Regions from separate parts of the Homo sapiens genome. Here all the other regions are linked to region 1. Evidence: promoter capture Hi-C in 16 types of primary human blood cells and fetal thymus (Javierre and others, 2016). All regions are on one chromosome and are shown on one strand. Each heading gives the region's core, a stretch centred on a gene start or on the middle of the fragment in contact. The rest is flanking DNA. Distances are from core to core; before and after follow the strand shown. Region 1 holds the start of CALML5 (calmodulin like 5). Region 2 overlaps AKR1E2 (aldo-keto reductase family 1 member E2). Region 3 has its middle 51 kb from the start of AKR1E2. Region 4 has its middle 54 kb from the start of AKR1C1. Region 5 has its middle 37 kb from the start of AKR1C1.

Region 1 (2,716 bases), core at 82-2,581:
GATGCACACAAGGACACACAGACACACAAACATACAGAGACTTACACACAGATGCACACATACAGAGACACGCATACAGACACACAGACACACACACAGATGCACACACAGACGTACACGTATATTATTTGCAGCCGAAGAGAGGCAGGCTGCGTGCAGAGGCTGGCAGCTGGGCTCCGTCTGTCCATGCGAGGCGCCCGCTCCTGTTTGTGCGGGACACGTGCCCAGGTCCTCACCAGCAGCTCAGGCAGAACCTGGAGCCACAGACACCGCCCAGCACCATCCTCACACATCCTCTGCCCACCTGCCCTCTGCTCCGCGTCAGGGGAGGCAGGAGCTGCCCCTGGGGCCTGCTCCAGGCAGTTCTGCCACCGCAGGTGAGAGGGGTGGGCTGGAAGGAACCCTGGAAGCAGGTGGGGGCCCTCGGAGGCAGCCGCCCCACAAACACCAAGCACACATGGAACTCGGCAGTCCTTTATTTAGATCAATGCGGGGCTGAGGGGCCCTCATTCCACTGCAGGGCAAAGGGGGACCAGGCCCAAGGAGGCCTCCTTCTGCCCAAGGTCTGGAGGCAGAGAGGGGCTCGCAGGCGGCCCGAGGGCGCCGCATCCAGGCCCCGGAGCGCAAAGCCTTCCTCCCAGGGGGAGGCAGTTTCCCATCCACCGACCAGGTTTCCCCGGAGAGTCCCAGCACAAAAGCAGCAGCGGGCGGTGGCCCTGAAGGCTCAGAGCGCAGCCAGGGGGACACAGGCGGGGAGCCTCACTCCTGGGCGAGCATCCTCGCGAACTCCTCGTAGTTCACCCGCCCGTCCTGGTCCACGTCGGCCTCGCGGATCATGGCGTCCAGCTCCTCCTGCGGCAGCGGCTGCCCCAGCCCCGCCATGGCCCGCCTGAGCTCGTCCACGGTGATGTGGCCGTCGCCATCCTGGTCGAAGGCGCGGAAGGCGACCTGCAGGTCCTCCAGGCCGGCCCTGGCCTTCTTCGCCGCCGTCAGGAACTCCTGGAAGCTGATTTCGCCGTCGCCGTCGCTGTCAACCTCGGAGATGAGTTTCCTTAGCTGGGCCTCCGAGAGGTTCTTGCCCGTGGCCTTCAGCGCCGCGCCCAGCTCCTGGGCATTGATGGTGCCGTTTCCATCCGTGTCAACCGCGGAGAAAGCCTTTTTGTACTGGGCCTCCTCCTCAGGAGTCAGCTCACCGGCCATGCCTGCGTCTCCTGCACCTCGCGGAGCCTCCGAGCTGCTGCCCACCGGCCCTCAACCTGCTGCTCTCAGAGCTCGTGGTCCAGAGTGCAGGCAGCCGCAGGGATCCGGGCAGCGTCTGTCCCAGACAGTTCTGCCTTGGCATGGGAACCCCCTCCTTTTCTGCAATCGGAACAAAGGGAGGAGGGAGGCTCCCCACCCTCCAAATGCCCTGGGGTGAGAGCCTCCTCCCAGGGAGGGCCAGATCAGCTGCAGACAGGAAATGCAGGAATGGGAGTTGGGAGAGCTGTCAGGTGCCAGGTGGGAACTGCCATGGGGTCGGGGTATCGGATGGCTAGCCTGCCAACCCCGCCTGGCCTTGATAGCAACCACCTCCCTCCAGGAACATTCTGCCCAAGGGATAGTTTCCCCTGCAGCTGATTCTCGGAGATCCTGACCAAGCCAAGGGGTTCAAGACAGCTTCTGCAACTTCACAAAGACTGAGACTGGAGGGGGAGGTGGCTTGAAGAGGGCTCCCTCAAGGGCACAGCAGGCCCCAGTGTTTGGTGTTTCCGTACCCCTCTCTCCAGTGCTACTGCCTAGCTCTTGCCCTGAGGCTGGGGCTGGTGGAAGGGAAGTGGGTGGTAGTGTTGATTCTGCCAGGGCACAACTGTGGGTATCATGAGATTCCCAGGCCAGGGTCTAGAGACAGAGGATGGGGCTCACTGCCTATAACTTCAAGGAAGCAAGGGACCAGGGCTGCCTTCAGAGCCATAGCTGGTGCTGAGATGGTGTTTATCAAGTGAACATGTGACGTGCAGTTTCAGAGGAGAGGGAAAGACTTTTTGTCTCCCCAGAATACTCCCTTCTAGCTCAGGGATTCCTACAATTCAATTCCATCGCCAAGTCCAAGGTTCCCTGTGCAGACACCCTGGGAGCTCAGTGGCAGGCGTTCCATTCACAGGGCGTCAAACAGTTACAGCTGGAGTTTTGCTGCAGCGAGACACGGGGGACCTCAGTGCCCAGCATACCCCAAAGGTGCAGGCAGAGGTGCAGGAGGATGCAGAACAGGTGGCTGCCATCAAACTTGGCCCTCCTTGTGGTTTTACTAAGCATCAGCCCTAAGCACAGAGACCCATCTGGGAGCCTACTGGGGTCCTCAATCTGATCTGTTCTCTGGAAGGAAACCCCCAGGGCCACTTGCCTTGACCAACTTTTAGAGCAACAGCTAAGCTTTCGGGGGACCATCCCCAAGTCCTTCCACTGATGTGATCTACAGTTGTGAGGGGACATTTGCCTTGGAGTCCCCAAAATGCCTTTCCCAAGCAAGTCCCCTCTGATCTCCATAGATTCCCATTCTTCTCCCCAGCCCCTGCCCGTACACAGGGAACAAACTCCTTTATTCCCCTGGGAAAGTTTATACATTCCACCTCCCTCCTGTTCAGCCCATCAAATAGACCAAGTGCCCTCTCCTTCCCTAAAGTGCAGCCAGACAAACACCTCCCAGCCCCTTGGTGCTGCACACATTCTCCAAGGGAAG
Region 2 (2,716 bases), core at 100-2,599, 670 kb before region 1:
CAGGTGCATCAAATTGGATTAATCATAATCACTCATCACTGGTCTATGCAAAGGCTTATTTTTACTCGTCTATTTTTAATAGTGAATAAACATCACAGACCTATCCGTTATCTGTTGCCCCAGAAATGCTGCATCAATGGCCAAACACCAGACCTCAGTGGTGTACAGCAGCAAGTGTATTCCTCCCACACGGGAGGTCAGGAGAGCAGCTCTGTGGACCTTGGCTGGGCTCAGTTGGGATGGTTGGGGCTACTCCACTTGGCTCCGCACATCTCCTGTCCTCGTGCGGTTAGTTAGGGAGTGTTCTCAAGATGATGGCTGAAGCACAAGAGAGCAAGGGGAGCGGTGAGATGTCTGGAGACCTCAGCCTGGGCTCTTCATTATTAGGGGCCACTTGATCCATCTGTGTGCCTGATCGGTGCTGTCTTAATTACTACAGTTCCTTGATAAGCGCCCATACCTAGTAGGGCAGGTCACCTCTCCCTGCTGTTGTAGATTTACAGTGTACAATTTGATGAGTTTTGACAGATGCATGTACCTGGGTCCTGGCTTTTTATTTTGGCACCTTACTCTCCACTGTAAGTTTTAGAACTAGCTTAGAAGGTTCCATGAGAAACTTTATTGGGGTTTTGATTGGAACTACATTAAATCTGTAGACCAGCTTGGAGATAATTGACACCTTTGTAATGTTAAATCTTAACTTTTCTACAAGCATGGTATTCTTCTCTGTTAATAAATTGTCCTGAATATGGTTCATTTCTAACATCTTTTCATATGGTTGTATAGTTTTTCCTGAAGAGAATATATGTCTTTTGTTGGAATTATTATTGGGTTCTTGATAGTGTGTTATACTACTGGAAATTATATTTCTCTGAAGTTACATTTTCTACTTGTTTCACCTGCTATATTCATTACACTTCCAGCCACTTTACTAAACTGTACTGTTATTTCTGTTAATTTGTGTTACATTTGTTTGGATTTTCTACACAAATGATCATATCATCAGCAAATAATGGTAGTTTACTTTCCTTTTTTTCCACTCTTTAAGCTTAAAATTGCTTCTTCTTAGTTGTTCAGGTGCTTCTGGAAAGCACCTCCAGCACAGTGGCCATTCTTGTTTTGTACCTGATTTTAAAGGATGTAAGATGGATATTTTTTAATATTGATACTCTTTATCAGATTAATTCTTTTCCCCGACTTACTGGGAGTTTAGATTTTGAATCTAAACTGGTATTGAATCTTAACAAATATTGATTGAGTTGACTTTTGTTTTTGTACTTTAATCTGTTAATATTGATGAATTACAGATTTTCTAATATCAAACCATCCTTAGATATCTGAGATACACTCAACATGGGTGTGGTATATTATCTTTTCATAAATATTGTTGCATCCAATTTGCTTTTATTTTACTTATGAATTTTGCAACGGTATTCATGAATAAGATGAATGTGTGACTTTTAATATTTTTGTCTGATTTTGATTCAGGGTTATGCTAGTTTTGTAGAATGAGTTGAGATAAGTCCGTCTTTTTCTGTTGTTTGAAAGTCTGTGTTAAACTGAGATGATTTTTTTCTTGAAAATTTTATGAAACTGGTGGTTTTCTCTTTTTTTTGAATTCCTTGCATTCTTTAATAATTATGTAACTATTCAAGCTTTATTCTTGGGTTAAATTTTTCTAGGAATTTTCCCATTTTATCTCATTTTTCCAAGTTATTGACATATAGTTATTGGTAATATTTTCTTTTAAGTCCATTTTATCTGCATGTTTTACTGTCCATTCGTGTCAGTTTTTTAAAAAGTTGGCCTCTTCATCAACCTAGCCAGAAGTCTGTTTATTTTACTGAAGTTTTTCAAAGAACTGACTTCTGGTTTTGTTGATCTTCTCTGTTACATCTTTGTTTTCTATTTTATTGATGTTATTCTTAATCATATTTTTATCTTTCCATCCAATTTCTTGGGTTCTTTTTCTAACTTAAGATGGATACTTGGTTCATTAGCTTTCAACCACTCTGAATCTGTTGCCTATAAAATGAAGATAATTATGCTGCTCTAACTCCTAGGGTTACCGTGAAGCTCCAGTGAGAAAGTGGTTTGTGAACTATAAAGCCCTTGTCAGTCTTCAGTTTAATGAGACTGCAAACCCGCCCACCCCCATAGTCTTCCCTAGTTCTAGTCCCTTCCCTTGCCTGAGCTTCATTTAGAGTGACTGTTCTCTTTTCTGAACTACCTTATTGCTTGTAGCATTATACATTCATTTAGGTTTTGTTATATACTTCTTTTTGTATGGATACCTTCGTGTGAGTCTACACCTCAGCCTTTATTATTGGACGCTGTGGTATCTGAGTATACAGGATAAATCTTAAGCCTCTTTGCATCTCAGTTATTATTCATTCTGTACTTTTTTATTGCTTTGATCATTCAGGAAGCATACCATCTAGCTCAGTTTTCTGCAGACACTAAAAATAACCTATAGTTTTTTTTTCCCAAAATATGTAAAGGAGTTGGAACTTAGATTATTCATAAATTCCTTCATAACTGATATTGCCTGTTTTTAGACTGATTATACTAGTACCAAATTAGTGACTTAATTTTTTATGTATTATGTTGTCCACATGCTTGGGTGAAAGGGGAGATTTGTGTTGGATTCCTCTGACTGTGAGAAGACACTTTGTTTTGTTGGTTTTGCAGGCTTCTCCAGGGAAAGTGACCGAGG
Region 3 (2,716 bases), core at 59-2,558, 620 kb before region 1:
TCCGTCTCTATTGAGTTCTGCTCACACTCTTGTCTGGGCAGAGCTATGAGCCTTGGAGAAAAAAAAATGTCTGATATGAAGTCTGAAGAAAAAATGTTTTCCAACAACTTTCCTAAGCAACAAACCCTGCCTTCTGTGGGCTGAAATCAATGGAATTCCCCCACTGTCCTGCTCCCTAGTGTCAACAACGAAACAAGCTACTTACATAGACATTTACAAATGGCATATATTCTTGTTCAAGCCATCTGTGGTTTTCATGTCCTCTGGTGTCAGCTAGAAGTCAAAAACCTGTCAGAAACGTGAGAAGATCAATTTAATATCCTTGAGGCAATTGCTGTTCCTCTTCTCCCCTCTCCACAAACAGACAAATCCATGTAGGACTTTGTGTAGGTTTTATGAGTGAGTTTTCATGGACCAAGGATTCATTCAGTGGCATGTCATGGGAATTTGTCCATTTATAAAGTTGAGATTGGCATGGTTAATCTTCCCTCAGATACTTTTATTGGGGAGCCATCATGATAGCAAAGAAATCCTAGAGAATTTTAAGCCCAAACCTCACGTGATCTAATTCCTTTATTTTACAGCTATAGAAATCAAGGGATGACTTACCCAGCGCCATACTATAGGGGAAAAACCCGGATTAGGACCCTCTCCTGACCTTCTCTTTAGTGTCCTTTCCAACCATCACACTCTCCCTTGCAGCAAGGGGAGACAAAGCAATTAAATATGGTGCTTATATGCTTATATGCATAGAATGTAAAAGGAGATAAGCTTTGCCCAAATATACCTTGAGAGCTTTGCAAAAACTCAGATACCGTGGGGAAATGATGTGCCTCTGTCAATCCCCTGCTGCCACCACCATGCCCTGTACCTGGAAGTTTTCTTTGATTCTCTTCTCATTGAAGCTCTTCACCAGGACCACCACCCCGCGCTGCAGCTGGTAGCACAAGGCAACCTGGGCTGGAGTTCGCCTGGGCTTTTCAGCAATGGCATTGAGTATTGGATCCTCCTGGAGAACTGGGTTTCCTTTTTTCACCCTGAGAGGAGAGGCAGAGGTGCTGCAAGTCTGAGGCTGAATATCCATTTTACTTGCGGGCTGCTTATTTTGGCCAGGGATGCTAATCCTCCAGAACCTTCCTCATTACCTTCTGGCTGTCTCAATATCTGTTTTGCATCTTTTGTTATAACCAAAGAAGGACAAAGGAATGGAAGGTGGCAGTTCTATTTAGTTCTTATAATGTAGGTCTGGGTTAGGTAAAAGGTTTACAGATGAATTTATTCCTGCTGTCTATTTTTAATTTTGCCAGCTGATTGAGAGATTACTTCGGAAGGTACAGTATCTATGATTAAAATAACTTTATAGGCCAGTCACCGTGGCTTACACCTCTAATCCCAGCACTTTGGGAGGCCAAGGTGGGAGGATCACTTGAGCCCAGGAATTCAAGACTGGCTTGGGTAACGTAGTGAGACCCTGTCTCTACAAAAATGAAAATAAACAATTAGCCAGGCATGGTGGTGCACTCCTGTAGTCCCAGCTACTTAGGAGGTCTAGGAGGGAAGATCCTGACTTGAGCCTGGAAGGTCAAGCCTGCAACAAGCTGTGATTGTGCCCCTGCACTCCAGCCTGGATGACAGAATGAGACCCCCACCTAAAAAAAATAAACAAAATAACTTTATGAAGATGATTACCAGTCTTTGTCTGAGTCAGACCCCAAGGCAGAATATGCAGTCATGACAATGTCCTTGGACTTACAGTACTCCAGGAGTTTGCTTTGGTTGAGGTAAGGGTGATATTCCACCTGCAGAATGCCAAGCAGGAGAATTAGGTTACAGAACCACCAACACCAAGCTTACCAGGGACATGCAGTGCTGCATTGCATGGTATCAGACATCTTTTAGAATACCAGCAACACAGGCCAAGCCATGATTGTCATCCACAGCTGTATGCATGAAGCTCCCAAGGGCTTTACTTGGGATGACAGCCCATGGAGGGCATAGCAGTATTGATTAAATAATTAACTCAGTGCTCTTAGATGGCAGGTTGTGCACAAGGCCAAAAGAGAATTTCAGTCTTCCAGACTGAAAACCATGGTGACATCTTTGGTTCTTGCTCATTTATTGTTGACGTATAGCAAGCAGCAATTTCTGCCTTTCTTAGTTATTTAATCTCAGTATTCTTTATTTTTAAGGAGTATTCCCATTTTGTTCATTGCTGCAACCCCTGATAGCCAATAAATCATCCCTCAACATTTTTTGGCTTTATGAATGTATAATTGTTATATGAAAACATGCACACACTTAATGGATACATCTGGATGGATTTGGGCATGTGCATATACCTGTGATACCATCACTGCAAACGATGCATTAAACATGCCCATCACCTCCAAACATTTTCTTATGTCCTTTTGTGTGTGGTTTTGGTTTTAGTTTTTGGATTTTTTTTTTTTTGCAAGAACACTTGACATGAGATCAACTATCTTAAACATATTTTAAAGTATGCATACTGTTAATAACAGGTATAAGGGGTTAATATCTAAACTATGTAAAAATCTACAATGCAATAGCAAAAAAACAAACAAATAACCCAGTTGAAAAATGGGGGAAAAAAAACTTGCATAAGCATTTCTCCAAAGAAGTCATCACTCCAATTTGAAACAGTTTTTCATCAGGTTATTCCTTGGCTGCAGGAATGAGAATGTTTTCCTCTTTCCTA
Region 4 (2,716 bases), core at 105-2,604, 590 kb before region 1:
TCTAATAATAAACAATAAAACTCCAGTCCCCCACACAGTGGGCTCTGCGGGAATTACTCTTTCTCCATTGCAATTCTCCCGTCTTGATAAATAGACTCTGTCTAGGGAGTGGGCAAGGTTAACCCACTGGGCAATTACAGGTATATAAAATTCTTAATTTCACCACAAACTGTTTAAGAAAACTTGATTTTTCAAAATTTTAATCAATGTGTAAATATTCAGAAAAAACTACTTTCTGTGTTTTAATTGGTAGGATACAGTCAATCAACTTGGTGTAAAACTAAGCAAAATTAATTGTAGATATTATTTCTCTCCAGGCACAAAAACGTGTTTTGAACCTACTCTAACCAACTGTCAAAAGGCTGTGTTAAGTGATTCTCTGACAAGGTAAGATCTAATGCTTGGTGTCTTTTTGAAGTTTTTCAAAATTGCCTCCAATATCAACCTTCCCTTCCCTTTCAGCATTCTGTTCCCTATCTTTCAGCTCATCTTTCTAGTTTTCCTATAGCAAGAAAACGTGTTCAGAGAGCAAGATAATTATATGTATTGATTCTATATGAGAAATATCACCTGTTCTGTCATTAGGGGCTTTAAATATGCCTACCTTATTAAAGAGCTACTTCTCTAGACACAACTGTGACTGAAGAATTAATTCACTCAAGATCCAATATTACCCACAGCGACTCCTTCAATCTCAACCTCCTACTGTGTCAAAACCAAGCTTCCTTCATGAACACTTACCTATACCAAGAGTGCAGACTTTCTTTTCCCTATAGTAATTCAAACTGGGTATTGTGTTGCTTTTCCCTACCACTTTTCTCTTCTGGGACTACTTATATTTACTGTAGTGCATCTGTCTAATTTCAAATATTAAAGAGGCAGGTTCTGTAGTGACAAAGGACTATAGGGAGTTGGTTTTATCTAAACTTTAAAGTAGTGGTTTTCAAAGTTTGGTACCAGAACCTATGGGGTCCCTAGAATCCTTCTGGGGGCATGATGTAAAAATTATTCTTATGATAATACTAAGAACCTATTTCTTTTTTACTCTCATTCTTTTGTGAACGTACAGTGGAGTTTCCCAGAGGCTTATGTGGTATTGATAGATGCAGGACGCAGATAAGGTGGGGGTCGAGGGAGTCCCCAGAGAATCTCCGACCTACTCCGCAAGTGTTTACATCAGATGCTTTCGTGCAGATGAGGGAACCTGCCCAGGGTGTTGTCTGCACATGCCCACAATGGACTGGGGACCCGCCTGTGCACTGGGAGAATAAGGTGGAGCCACAGGAAGTTCATGGCCTGTGCAGCAGGAGGAGCCTGGCCTCTTCTGGTCCTGTGTGTTGGCCTGGTACTCAATCTGTGAGGTGGTAGCATGTTAGCAGGAGTCCCTCTCAATTTGCTGACAGCTTTTTTTTTCTCCTTTTTCCTATTTGCCCATACATTCTGCTCTCTTCACCCTTCAATGTGTCCACATGCCTCATTTATCCTGGTCATGACACAAGAACCGGGATTTAGCTGAACTAAGAAGCAAAAATTCTGCATCATTTTGGTGGCGTGTACAGGGACATGAGGAAGGGTGAGTAAGATGTGAACCAAAAAAATCATTTTCCCTTTTGTTTCTAAGCCTTTTTGTACTCGGACTTCTTATGAGGATAGAGGAAACTGTGTACCACCCTACCTCAATGGCCACAGGTGCTCCCTGCCCCCCTTCGCTCCTGACTGGGATGCATGGCCATAACTGCCACAGGTGCGTGTGGTGTCTAACGGCCATGCTGGGCAGAAATGAGCCACAGCCACTGCCTGGGCCCCAAAGTGGCCTCAGGGACCCAGGCCCCATGTGGCAAGCTGGCCAGTGTTCCCTGCAATGCATCTACGGAGTCTTCCCCACCCCTGGCCAAGGGGTCCAGCTCCATCAGACAGTAATTAAATTTCTCTCTCTGTTGTAGGAACCATTTGCATAATTAAAAAACATCTTCCCACCCCTGCACTTTAAGCTTTTTTTCTTTTCTCCACCAGGTCAGGAGTTAACTTTTAAGTGAGACCTTTTTTCCCCCTTTTAGAAAACGTTTTACTAGGCCAGGGCCCCAGCTGTCACTGTTTATATTCTCTGTAAAGTTTGAATTATAAAAAAGGATTTGTAAGGTTGGTCTTAAGCTGCAGCCAATCTGGTGTGCTCTGCATGTCTTTCTGTATGGTCAACAGCAAACTTTGCTGCAGGCCTCCATATTGTTTTACATCCTTGGAATTGTGACCTGTAACCACATGGTAGTGCTTTATTTTAGCTTCTGCCATTTTGCAATGGCAGCCTACGTTCAATCCTGGCTTAGGGAATGAGTCTTTTCTGGTTTGATATCTGTGTGACTTTTGCCATTTGTTGATTGTCTTCCATTCTACAAACTGCCTTGGATTTTCCTTTTCCTGAGCCTTTAGTAAAGTTTGAAAGCCAGAAATATTGGCCTCTTGGCACAGCTAAAGTGGGGTAACAGGGATATAAAGGGTTTTCTTAAAGAGCGCTCAGCTTAATTAAAAGTGAATGTCCAAGTTACAGGTATATTTAAAAGGCCTTTATGTTTTTTCTTCTTGGCTCTTGCTTTCCTGGAAAAAGGTTTTTTTCTCATTTGACTGAATTATTTTTCTCCATTTTGCCTTGCCACTCATAATATACTCATGAGTGGGGAGAGACCTCGGATTTCCTCATGCAGCCTCAGGAATTAGAGGC
Region 5 (2,716 bases), core at 89-2,588, 570 kb before region 1:
GGTGCACACACACACAGGTGCACACAAACACATATACACACAGGCACACACACACACAGGCACACATACACACAGGTGCACACACACACAGGTGCACACACATACACACACAGGCACACACACAGACACTCTCATCTTCTCCAGCTCTTCTTCTTCTGTGTATTGATGTTATCTTCAGGGTGGGTGGAGGCTGCTGAAGCAATTTTTGAACTCACACTGCAGCAGGACAATAGCTACTTGCAGAAGAAAGGCCACCTTATTTTAAAAATTTCTTCCTAGAAGTGAGGAATCCTTCCTAGAAGCCCCTAGCATAGTCCCTCTTATGTGGCATTGGCTAGGACTGGGTCACAGCAGCTCTCTTCCCACTGCAACCACATGCCAAGGGCAAGGAAATTAACATGAGTGACCTAAACAGACCTTTTGCAGTAAATCACATGTTGATGAGATTACAATCCTGACCCCTAAAACCATAATATGAAATTGATGTTTTTCACAAAAGTTAGACATTTCCAATATTGCCTATATTTCCAAATTGCTTTGCAAAGTTTTAAAACAACTCAAAATAAATTAAAGTTTTAAATGTAAGAACTGAAACTATAAACTGCTATCAGAAAATGTAAGGAAAATTCTAAATTCTTTGGGGAAAAAGTAATAACTAAATTTAGGGAAATAATTCAAGAGTATGACCTCAAGAACACAAACAAGAGAATAAAAACAGACATATATGGCTTAATAAAACAAATAAGCTTCTGTAAATCAAAAGAAATAATCAAAAGGGTGAACAGACAACCTACAAAATGGAAGAAAATATTTACAAACTGTAAATCCAATAGAAAACTCATATCAAAAATTTATGGCCAGGCGTGGTGGCTCATGTCTGTAATCCCAGCACTTTGGGAGGCTGATGTTTGTGGATCACCTGAGGTCAGGAGTTCAAGACCAACCTGGTCAACATGGCGAGATCCCATCACTACTAAAAATACAAAAATTAGCCAGGGGGGTGGCTCATGGCTATAATCCCAGGTACTTGGCAGGCTGAGGCACGAGAATTGCTTGTACCTGGGAGGTGCAGGCTGCAGTGAGCTGAGATTGTGCCACTGCACTCCAGCCTGGGCGACAGAGCAAGACTCTGTCTCAAAAAGAAAAAAAAAATTCTAAGAAACTCAACAACAACAACAACCCAAATAACCTCTGTTAAACTGGGTGAAGAGCAGAGGTTTCCCAGCTTCATGCTTCGGCATACCTCTAGGAACTTGATATCTGCCCGCCGAAACTTCTTCCTCCTGCTGGTGCTTGTGTCTGCCATTGTGTAACCTGTAAGCGGGCCTTCTACTTGGCTAAGCAGGAAGATTAGATGGCTGTGCCTTCCACAGGTCAGATCAATGTCTTATTACACAGATAGCTTCTCTCAGTTAACAGGGATCCAATATATACACATCTGTATCAGCCATAGCCAGTTCTTTCCCATAGAACCATCTACTGGCCTGGAACTTGAATCACTCAACACAAAAAGACATCTGCTGATGCAAGCCCACTGCACTAGGGAATAAGATAAACTCCCTGATAAGCTCGACATCCAAAAAAAGCAAATGCAAAACATAACAGGGTAAAATAGTTTATGCAATTGAGAAAAAAACAGGAAACAACTCTGAAAGTATGAAAAAACAGACTGTTTAACACCCTCAAAGGATCACACATTAACTCTCCAGCAATAGATCCTAACTTAAATGAAATTTTGAAATACCAGATAAATAATTCAAAATATTGAGTTATAGAAACTCAATGAGACCAAACAGAAAGCTGAAAACTAACACATAGAAATCAGAAAAAAACAATTCAGAATATGGAAGAATATATTGACATCATTTAAAAAAGAATCAGAACTTCTGGAAATAAAAAAATTCATTGAAGGAATTGTGAAATACAGTTGAAAGCTTTAACAATAGGCTAGACCAAGAGGAAGAAAGAATTTTAGAGCTGGAAGACAAGTCTTTGAAATTAACTCAATCAGACATTAATATAGAAAAATTAATTTTAAAAAATCCACAAAGTCTTTGAGAAATAGGGAATTTTATGAAGTGACCATCCCTCAGAAATGTAAGTATTCCAGAGTGAGAAGAAAAAGAACTAAAAAGTATGGAAAACGCTTCGGAGGATATACTTCAGAAAACCTTCCCTGGTATTGGGAAACATTTAGACATTCAGATGCAAGAAGATCACAGAATTCTTGGAAAATACATTTCAAGATGAACCTCACCACAGCATATAGTCATCAGACTATTTGAAGTCAACATAAAGAAAAAAATTCTAAGAGTTGCAAGAGAGAAACACTTAATCACCTGTAAAGGAAATCCCATCAGACTAAAATTGAATTCTCAGCAGAAACCCTACGGGCCAGAATATACTTCAGGCCTATATTCATCCTCCTTAAAGAACAAAAGGCAGCCAAGTATTTTATATGCTGCTAAGCTAAACTTCCAAAATGATACAGGAATATTCTTTTCCAGACAAACAATTACTAAGGGAATTCATTACCATTAGCTCAATCCTAGAAGAAATGCTGAAAGAAATTCTAAACATGGAAATTAGGGGACAATACACATCATCATAAAAGGGCACATTAGTACAAATCTCACAGATCCTACAAAGTAATTACATAATTGAAACTCAAAGACAACTAGGAAACAATACTATGACAGAAACAGAACCTCACATA

The links. Contacts are between HindIII fragments. The CHiCAGO score rates a contact against its expected background, and 5 or more counts as called.
Region 2: a contact is called between a fragment that was not itself captured here and the fragment with the promoter of CALML5 in region 1, in 1 of 17 cell types (M1 macrophages). The highest score is 5.2, in M1 macrophages.
Region 3: a contact is called between a fragment that was not itself captured here and the fragment with the promoter of CALML5 in region 1, in 2 of 17 cell types (M0 macrophages and M2 macrophages). The highest score is 6.0, in M0 macrophages.
Region 4: a contact is called between a fragment that was not itself captured here and the fragment with the promoter of CALML5 in region 1, in 1 of 17 cell types (M2 macrophages). The highest score is 5.6, in M2 macrophages.
Region 5: a fragment that was not itself captured here is called in contact with the fragment with the promoter of CALML5 in region 1 in 1 of 17 cell types (M1 macrophages); the score reaches 6.2 in M1 macrophages.

The regions. Positions count from the first base shown.
Region 1 is chr10:5,498,239-5,500,954 of GRCh38, forward strand. CALML5 (calmodulin like 5) reads right to left here and starts at 1,332. Exons shown (of 1, transcript NM_017422.5): 1 at 459-1,332. The coding sequence starts at 1,200. The coding sequence ends at 760. The HindIII fragment of the contact is 4,911 bases long and covers 1-2,407 here.
Region 2 is chr10:4,827,984-4,830,699 of GRCh38, forward strand. It overlaps AKR1E2 (aldo-keto reductase family 1 member E2), which reads left to right. Exons shown (of 10, transcript NM_001040177.3): 2 at 2,692-2,716. Among named protein-coding and RNA genes, the nearest start is that of AKR1E2, 3.1 kb to the left of the region's middle. The HindIII fragment of the contact is 607 bases long and covers 1,047-1,653 here.
Region 3 is chr10:4,875,766-4,878,481 of GRCh38, forward strand. It overlaps the pseudogene AKR1C6P. Among named protein-coding and RNA genes, the nearest start is that of AKR1E2, 51 kb to the left of the region's middle. The HindIII fragment of the contact is 1,078 bases long and covers 770-1,847 here.
Region 4 is chr10:4,908,034-4,910,749 of GRCh38, forward strand. It overlaps the pseudogene AKR1C6P. Among named protein-coding and RNA genes, the nearest start is that of AKR1C1, 54 kb to the right of the region's middle. The HindIII fragment of the contact is 1,270 bases long and covers 720-1,989 here.
Region 5 is chr10:4,924,686-4,927,401 of GRCh38, forward strand. No RefSeq gene overlaps it. Among named protein-coding and RNA genes, the nearest start is that of AKR1C1, 37 kb to the right of the region's middle. The HindIII fragment of the contact is 1,188 bases long and covers 745-1,932 here.